3 separate regions of the Homo sapiens genome follow, and regions 1 and 2 are each linked to region 3. The links are contacts of gene promoters, found by promoter capture Hi-C in blood cells and fetal thymus (Javierre and others, 2016). All regions are on one chromosome and are shown on one strand. The core of a region is centred on a gene start or on the middle of the fragment in contact, and the rest is flanking DNA. Distances in the headings are between cores, read along the strand shown.

Region 1 (2,747 bases), core at 208-2,707, 59 kb after region 3:
TTACTTCCAAGGCAGCCTTTTCTGCACAACTCTTTCCTCTGGGTTCTGGAAAATTCTCCCTCCCATTGTTCTTTGGGGACAGCTCTGGCTCTGCTAGCTTCTGACCCCTGTACTATCTCTTGTGGCTTCTCTACATGCTGGCTCCATTGTGGTAATGAGTCCCTTTGTCAATTAGCCCCTTTCCAAGTATCCTAACTTGGGTATGCTATTTCCTGCTGGGACCCTGACTGAGACAGTGCAGCTGGGGCTCCATCTCCCTGGTTTTATGGAGTGTGGGAGTCAGGGTAGAAGTGTAGAACTTTAGATGGTAGGTGTAAGTTTCCTGAGGGCCAGAACTCTCCAAGGGGGTGATCCACATATTCTGAACGGTGAGATGAGAGAGTGCTTTAGGGTCTCTATGTCAGGGACCAGGATCCAGCCTTCATTCTCTGAAGGGCCATGCATGCTGCCTCTGTTGAAATCTAGTATGGTGCTTTGGCACCATTGATGTCTCTTGATGTCCAGAGGCTCATCCAGAGTGAGGTATAACTTGCCTGGCAAAGCCTCCTGGAGGGCTGAAATATGGATGGACACAGAAAGGGTTCCATGGCCCCATTACCTCCCCAGAACGGGGTGTGGACAAAAGTGTTCCAAGTTGCAGAATTAGAATAAAATTCCATGAAACCCACAATGTGCATTGAAGAACATACATCCATGTTTCAATTTCAAAATAGTTCTCACTCTTCCCTGATGTCTTAGTTTGTGTTGCTATAAAGAAACACCTGAGGCTGGGTCATTTATGAAGGAAAGAGGTTTATTTGGCTCATGGTTCTGCAGGCTGTACAAGAAGTGTGGTGCCAGCATCTGCTTCTGGTGAGGGCCTCAGGAAGCTTCCAATCACGGCAAAAGGTGAAGGAGAGCAGGCATCACACAGCCAGAGAGGAAGGAAGAAGAGAGAGGAGGAGAGAGGTCCAAGCTCTTTTTTAACAATTGGTTATCATAGGAACCAATAGAGTGAGAACTCATTCATTACCGAGAAGATGGTACCAAGACATTCAATGAGGGATCTGCCCCCATGACCCATGATCTGAACACCTCCCACCAGGCTCCACCTCCAACACTGAGGATCAAATTGCAACATGAGGTTTGGTGGGAGCAAATATACAAACCATATCACCTGACAAACTACAAACAATGACTCACGGCCCCATTCAGATGCCCTGTGCTCATCAGTGTTTCTGTTGTCTGGAATGTGATGCCAAAGAAGTTGGCCCCAACTCCAGACTCAGATGACTGTCCAGCTGACTCACCAGCCTGAGAAAAGGAAACAGAAGAGGAGAACCCAGATTTGAGGCCAGGGGATGGAACATGGAGAAACACGACAAAGGAGAAGCTTAAAGCAGAACAGACAGTGGCCAAGGAGAAGTCTCTGAATTGGAAGGAGAACACCACCATTTTCTTCAAAATATTTCATTGATGAGTATTTTTCTGGTAATAGAAGTCATACATGGTCCTTGGTAGGAAATATGGAAAATACAGGATCTGATCATTGTAGAAAGCTTAGTAAATACAAGGTTTCATGGTAGTCAAGGTGAGAGATGATAAGGACCCTGTTATGGATTGAGCTGTGTTTCCCTGACCCAAATTGGTATGTTTAAGTCCTAACTCCTAGTACCTAAGAATGTGACTGTATTTGGACATAGGTCTTTAAAGATGTAATTAAATTAAAATGAGGTCATTGGGGTGGGCCCTTAATATGACTAGTGTCCTTATAAGAGGAAGAGATTAGGACACAGACACACACAGAGGGGAGACCATGTGAAGACACATGGAGAAGACGGCCATCCACAAGCCAAGGAGAGAGGCCTCAGAAGAAACCAACCCTGCTGACACCTTCATCTCAGGCTTCCAGCCTCCAGAATTGTGAGACAATACATTTCTGCTGTTTAAGCCACCCGGTCTGTGCTACTTTGTCATGGCAGCCCTAGCAGACAAATGCAGACTCCAACCTTGGGCAGTGGCAGACTCCCCTCATGGAGAAGAGGGGAGGGATGGAAGACATTTTTAGGAGGTGAAATTGGCAAACTTTGATGAATGGCTCCGTATAGACAAGTGAGGGTGCAGAGTAGTGGAGGACTTTGTTAGTTTTCTAAGCCTGAGCAGCTGGACGGATGAGGGTGCCCCATCTCATCAACTGTGATGGAGAATCCAAGAGGAAGAGTTTCTGTTTGGATGAGTTGAAGGGGAGACACAGGAGGAGCACCCAGTGGGGATGCCCGTTCTCTGGTTGATCTAGTCCAGGGCTTCAAGCCAAGGGCTGAAGGGAGGCACAAGGGCACATCAGTGCAAGCGGAAAGCATACTGCGAGTAGAGGAGGGTGGCAGAGGACAGACCCCCGGGGAGGCGCACATTTATTTTCTTGGAGAAAGGAACCATCATGTATTGTGCTGATGATCGCATTGCAGCTGTTCACATTTATTAGGTTGATTCCGAAATATTGTCTGCCTCCCCTAATTTCTCTTTCAACCCATTGTTTAAAAATTCCCAAGATAGGCACAGACAGACTACTCCCCAAATGCTAAATTGGTCAAATTAGGGGGAAGGCTGTCTCTTTAACCTACCCCTGTGATTATTTGGTACACATGGTGCTTAGCATGCTGGCTTCCAGGAGCCACCATATGGGCAGGTAAGTGCGGAGCTGGATGGTCAAACAATGGGCTGTTTTGCTTTTAGCAATACGCGTTCTTACTTTTGTGTACCCCCCCTGG
Region 2 (2,915 bases), core at 195-2,694, 36 kb after region 3:
GAGCATGGGCCCTCCTCGTCCACAATGCAATGCAAAGGATATTCCCAGAGAACTAACCGTGCATCATGCTCAGTACCAGGCACCCCAGGGCATGCAAAGGTGAGAACAGAGGCCTTGCCTTGCGTTGGGGGGGTTTGGGAAGTGGAACCTGTACAGAGCTCAGGGACAGTGCTGAGTTGTTCCTTGGCGCCCCGAGGCATACAGACCCCTTGTGATGCTGCAGGACAGATCATGTCACCCAGAGTAACAGAGACCATACCTTGTAGGACCTCCCAGAAGATTCAATGGGATGACACTCATGCAGTCAGGCACCTTCTTCTGCTTAATTGGATATGCGTGGTGTGCCAGGTTCTCCCTCTCAGGCCAGATGGCCTGTGAAGATGGTACTAGCATCACCCCTACTTTACAGATAAGGAAGCCAAGGCTAAGAAAGCTCATGTCTCTTGTCCAAGGTCACTCAGCTGGCAGAGCTTGGCCAAGGCAGCATACCACCCCACACCCAACTGCCTCTTCATGGTCTCCATGGTGACTGCCCCACTATGACCTACAGATTCCTGGCTGCTTGGGTTGGGGGAGCCTCAGCTGTGGGAGTCCACACCCAGCAGCAGCTGCACTCTGGGCAGGTCCTTGGGCCCAGGGCATCCATTCACTGCTGGCACCATGCAGAGGGCGACTCCTGGGATGTTTCATTTAATCCTCACAGCAGCACAGTTGTCAGGTGCTACTATTAATTACTCTATTTACATAAGAAGAGAGGATCAGGAAGGTCTCGTAACCTGGATCACTGTAGTATAGGGCTTTGGTCTGAATCCAGCTGCCTTGGATAGAATCAAAGTGCTCACCATCCTTTAGGCCTCAGTATCCCCCATCAATGAAGGATTCAGGACTTTTACACTTCCACCTTGTTCCCCACACTCTCCAAACCTCCTGACTTGCACTGTGCCACTCGTTCATTCGTTCATTCATTTTTTTGTGAGTCCTTATATCTAGCAGGTACCCTGAAGGTACAAGGATGTCCAAACCACAGTTTCCACCCTAGGGAAGCCCCACAACCAAGGACAACTCCTTTCTAGAACTGTCTAAACTCCGCTTCAGCAGAGGCCAGTGAATTCTCTTAGTGCACGGAGGACACACGGAGGAGGGCTGTTCTCACCCATCACAGCCTCCCTGCCAGCAGGGGCTCCCAGGACCTCTGCTCTGAGGTGGACCAGGACACCCAGAGGGCTCGGGTATTGGGGCAGAGCCTGATTGGCCCACGGAGCTTCCAAGATCACCCATTATGGCTCTATTCTACAGTTGAAACATGTTCAGAGTTTCAAAGAGGCCACTCCAGCCCTGTTCTGAAAAACAAGCTTCTACTGCCAAATCTGAGGATGAAGGAGAGAGAATTGCTCGTGGTCCTGTTTGGACTGCACTGCACCTGTGGCCCTTGCTCTGGGCTCCAGAACTTTTGCCTAGAAAGCAGAGGTGTCTGAGAGCCGGGCTGGTCTGGGAGGGAGGCAGAGGAAAAGGTGAGGCCAGGCATACAAAGCTTAAAAGATCCCCAGCTCTCAGGTCAGCCAGGGTAGGGATGGTAAACCAGGATGCTTGCGGTCCAAGGACACCGGGTCACAGGGCCTCCAGGACTCAGCAGGGCTCAGTAGGGCTCAGGAGGGCCGGAGGGAGGCGGTCCAGAGAGGCCGCTGCTTTGCAGTTCTAGGCCCTTGCGTGTGCAAGCACCGGTGTGCGTGGATCTGTGAGCGCGAACTCAGGTGCGTGAGTCCCCTGTGCGAGAGCCTGTGCACGTGGACTCAGGTGTTTGGAGCTGATGTGCAAAAGCCCGTAGCGGGTCTGTGATTTTGGGCTCGGGTGCATGGACCTGGGTGCTCCTTGGGAGGCTGTTTGGGCCCCATGCGCATGTAGGCGGTTCTGGAGAGCTCTGCGTGTCTCCTTCTTGGGGGACCTCCAACCGTTCCCACAACCAGTGGACGGATTGTGGCCGCACCGACGCTGCAATGTCGCCAAAGGAAAACTGCGCGCGTCCAAGCCAGCTGCTTCAATCCTGGCGGATGCGGGCCGTGCCGGGGTCTCCAGCCGGTGGGGTGGGCCTGCGCGTCTCCCGTTAGCCTGTGCGGGGTCGGGGAAGCGAGGGCCGGAGAGGACACCAGCGCGCAGTTCAGAGCGGGTTCCTTAAGCAGTCTTCCCCCAGAGCTGCAACGTGGCTGCCCGAGGACCCCAAATAAAGACGCGGCCTCCTCACCCAGAGCCCTGCCAGATCGTCCTGGTGGACCGCGCCCGCTTTCAGGGTTTGCAAACTGAAGGCCCGCTCGCGTGTCTGCAGGGCCCTCGGTGTGCTGTAAAGGAGGGTCTGAGGTCCCCCTGGCAGGAGAGCGCGCACTCGCAGCAGCCGCGGGACTGGCGCAGGTATCATCCTGGTTCCTGCAGGCCTTTCAGTTGGCGACCCTTTTCCTAGTGACTGCCCGAGGTGTGGAAGGCACAACGGGGCAGGGGATGTGGCCCGGGATTCCGGCTGCGGCCCTAGGCCGGCAGGAGCGGCAGCTGTCTTGGCACTAACGACGGTCCCTCGCGGGGCGTGCGGGCCGCCCTAATGAGGCTCCGCCGCGGCTCACCTGCTCCGGCCCTTCCTCCGCCCGCGCCGCGCGCCCACCCGCGCCCGCTAATTGCTAAAGCCTGTGAGCCCCGCCCGCCGCCCAGATGGGGGAGTCGGGGACAGATGGGGTCCAGGCATGGGGGGAAGCACTAGGAGCGCCACCTAAGGGGGCCGGGGTGGGGGACAGGGGGTGGCAGCAGAGGATTCCCGGGGCGGCAGCTGAGCCAGAGTCTGGGGACTGCTGGAGTGCGGGCCAGGTGGCCTCTTGGGGTGGGCCCTGGATTACAACAACCTTGCCACCTTCATTTACTGGCTGTGTCCCCTG
Region 3 (2,912 bases), core at 46-2,545:
TCTCGCTGCACCCGGGGCGCGCCAACCACGGCAAGGCGCCCTAAGTTCTACATCGGCCCCGCGAAGCGCGCAACTCCAGGGACAAGGAGAGAGATGTGCTGGGTGAGAGCGAGCACTTTCTGCCTAAAGCCGCTGGAACCGACCCAGAACCCCAAACTGCCCCGAGGCGCCATCGAACATCCGCTCTGGTCACTTTAACGTCCCAGGGGTGGGGGCGGGGAAGGGGGTGCCCGACAGTCCCTTCCTCTGGACTGGAAGGTTCGAAATGCTTTCCTTGCTCGGCCTCGCTCTCCCAGACGCAGGGAGCAGGGGCGCGGAGAAGCTGAGCGAAGGGAGGCCGGGCCGAGGTCGCGCCCCAGGCCCAGGCCCGCCCTCACTTGGAGAATTGCGCCTGCACGGCGGCCAGGCCCAGGCTGGCCGGGACCAGGTGCGGGAACTTGCACACGGCGCAGGTGCAGAGGCCGGGGCCGCCTGCGCCGCCGCCGGGGAGAGCGAACTGGCCGCACGGCGGCTCGTCCAGCGCCAGCGACAGGTACTTGGCGGGGCGCAGCGCGTCGGGGGGTCCTACGGCGCCGGGCGCCAGCAGCACGGAGCCGGGCGCGGCGGCGAGCAGGGGCAGCCCGGCCAGCAGCAGGCGCGGCGCGGCGGGCCCGGCGCCCTCGCCCAGCGCGCGGCGCAGCTCCTGCAGCGAGCTGCCCAGCAGTAGGATGTAGTTGCGGGCGAGCAGCAGCGTGGCTATCTTGGAGAGCTTGCGGCCGGGCGCGCCCTGGCAGTGCGCCGCTGAGTAGGGCAGGATGACCTCGCGCAGGGCGTCCATGGCCAGGTTCAGGTCCTGCATGCGCTTCCGCTCGCGGCTGTTGATCTTGCGCCGCAGCTGCTGCTGCTGCTCCTCCTTGGCGTCCGGCCGGGCGCTGCCGCCCGGGTGCGCGCCTGACCCGGGCCCGGGGCCTGGAGGCTCGGCCGGCGCCTCCGGCTTCTCGCGCGCAGCCTTGGGGAGGAGGGGGGCCGTCGTGGAGGAGGAGGAAGTGGAGGAGGTGGAGGAGGTGGAGGAGGAGGAGGAGGAGGGCGGCTGCCTGTAGCCCACCAGCTCGTAGAGGGAGGCCCCGAGCTGCAAGTCTCCGGGCCGCTGTGGCCGCAGCATGGTCCCGGGGACCGCGTTCACGCGCGCCTGGGAAACCGCATAGTACATCTGGGAGGCGGTGGGGGCGGCCGAGGACGCCCTTCAGGAACGCCCTGGGGTGGGCCGGTCGGCAGGCCGCCCCTCCCCGCGGACCTGCGCGCGGGGAAACGATGGTGGGGCCCTGGCCCGCGCCCTACCCCTTTAAACCCGGCTTGGGAACCTGCGGGGCAGCGGGTGGCGGGGCGCAGCCAATGGAGGCGCGAGGCCGGGCGCAGCCGCGTGTTCATTGGCTGCTTGTGCCGGGGCCGCGCGGAGGTGCGGCTGGCACCGCTTTAGGAGGTTATTGTGAGCGCCTGTGCCAGCCGCGCGGGACAGGCCCCCTGAGCGGAGTAAGGGCGCCTTTTCAAGGCAAGCGGGGCTGTTGAAGGAGGACTGGTCGCACTGGTCAGGCTGCAACTCACGTGCCTTCCTCCAGCAACTGTCTACTCAAAAACAACCTCCCTCATATTTTTTTTTAACTGTGATCACATATTCATAACATAAAATTTACCGTCTTATGTTTAGAGTACTGTTCAGTAATGTTATATGCATTAGTGTGCACATTAAATTGATTTAAATTAAATTCACATTGTTGTGCAACCCATCTCCAGAACTCTTTTCAACTTGCAACCCTGAAGCTCCACCCATTAAACAACTCCCCACTCCCCCCGACCCAAGTTCCTGGAATTCACTCTTCTGTTCTGTCTCTATGAATTTGTTCTACTCTAGGTCCCTCATATAAGTAGAATCATACAGCACTTGTCTTTTAGTGACTGGCTTCTTTCACTTAGCATATTGTCGTCAAGGTTTATCCATGTTGTAGCATGTATCAAAGTTTCTTCCTTTTCAAGGCTGAATAATATTCCAGTATATGGATATACCACATTTGGTTTATCCATTCATTCGTTGATGGACATTTGGGGTGCTTTTGGTTGTTGCGAATTATGCTGCTATGAACATGAGTGTATCATGTTTTTTTTTTCTTAAAATACATAATTTCCTGCCAGGTTCAGGTCGCTAAATTTCTGGACTAAATGACAAGTAGCATTAGGATATTTCCTCCCTGCTGCTCCCAACCTCCTTCCCCATCCCTCTGATTGAAAGGTCTTTAGGGACAAAGGAGCCTTTGGGTCGGGTTTCTATCCTCCCCGAAAGGGATGGTCTATCAGCAACTTGACATTTGCTTAAGCAAAAGTCACTCAGAAATTGGCCTCTTATTAGAAACAAAACAAAACACCCACATAGTCCTATCGGTTGAGGGTGGGAATGAATCATTTTATTTGCCAAATAGAATAGCATTACTTGGTGTCTATGGACATTTTCTGCCCCCAGCACCAGTGCATGCTACTATAACTTGTCAATGTCCTGGGGAAGAGGGCATCTTGGTGGCTGTGCTTGCTGGTTTCAGGGCTGCTTTGTTCTGGTTTTCTTCCACCAATATTTGCCACATGGGTTCACTCTGATCTTTGCTTCTGACCCCCAGCTCTGCCTGTAGCATCCTGCCTATGCCTCAGGTTCAGCTCCAACCTTGCTTTCTTCTGGAAGCCTTGGTGATTTCTCCTCTTCCTCCTTTCATGACTCTTGGCAAACCATTGATAGGATTTCTTCATAGCCTATTGTGTTATGTAGATACCATCTCTGCATTTGGCTATGATTGTTTTACGGTAGGGACCACCTGCTCATTTCTCCATCTTCCTGAAGCCTAGCACAGTGCTTGGCACTTACTGTGTGTCCTGGAGGTCTCTAAAGATGG

The links. Contacts are between HindIII fragments. The CHiCAGO score rates a contact against its expected background, and 5 or more counts as called.
Region 1: a contact is called between a fragment that was not itself captured here and the fragment with the promoter of OLIG1 in region 3, in 3 of 17 cell types (M1 macrophages, M0 macrophages and monocytes). The highest score is 5.5, in M1 macrophages.
Region 2: a fragment that was not itself captured here is called in contact with the fragment with the promoter of OLIG1 in region 3 in 2 of 17 cell types (M1 macrophages and megakaryocytes); the score reaches 5.8 in M1 macrophages.

The regions. Positions count from the first base shown.
Region 1 is chr21:33,010,115-33,012,861 of GRCh38, reverse strand. No RefSeq gene overlaps it. Among named protein-coding and RNA genes, the nearest start is that of OLIG2, 14 kb to the left of the region's middle. The HindIII fragment of the contact is 166 bases long and covers 1,375-1,540 here.
Region 2 is chr21:33,032,972-33,035,886 of GRCh38, reverse strand. No RefSeq gene overlaps it. Among named protein-coding and RNA genes, the nearest start is that of OLIG2, 8.5 kb to the right of the region's middle. RefSeq lists enhancers at 1,521-2,188, 2,189-2,857. The HindIII fragment of the contact is 179 bases long and covers 1,355-1,533 here.
Region 3 is chr21:33,068,524-33,071,435 of GRCh38, reverse strand. OLIG1 (oligodendrocyte transcription factor 1) reads right to left here and starts at 1,295. Exons shown (of 1, transcript NM_138983.3): 1 at 1-1,295. The coding sequence starts at 1,189. The coding sequence ends at 374. The HindIII fragment of the contact is 4,947 bases long and covers 1-2,912 here.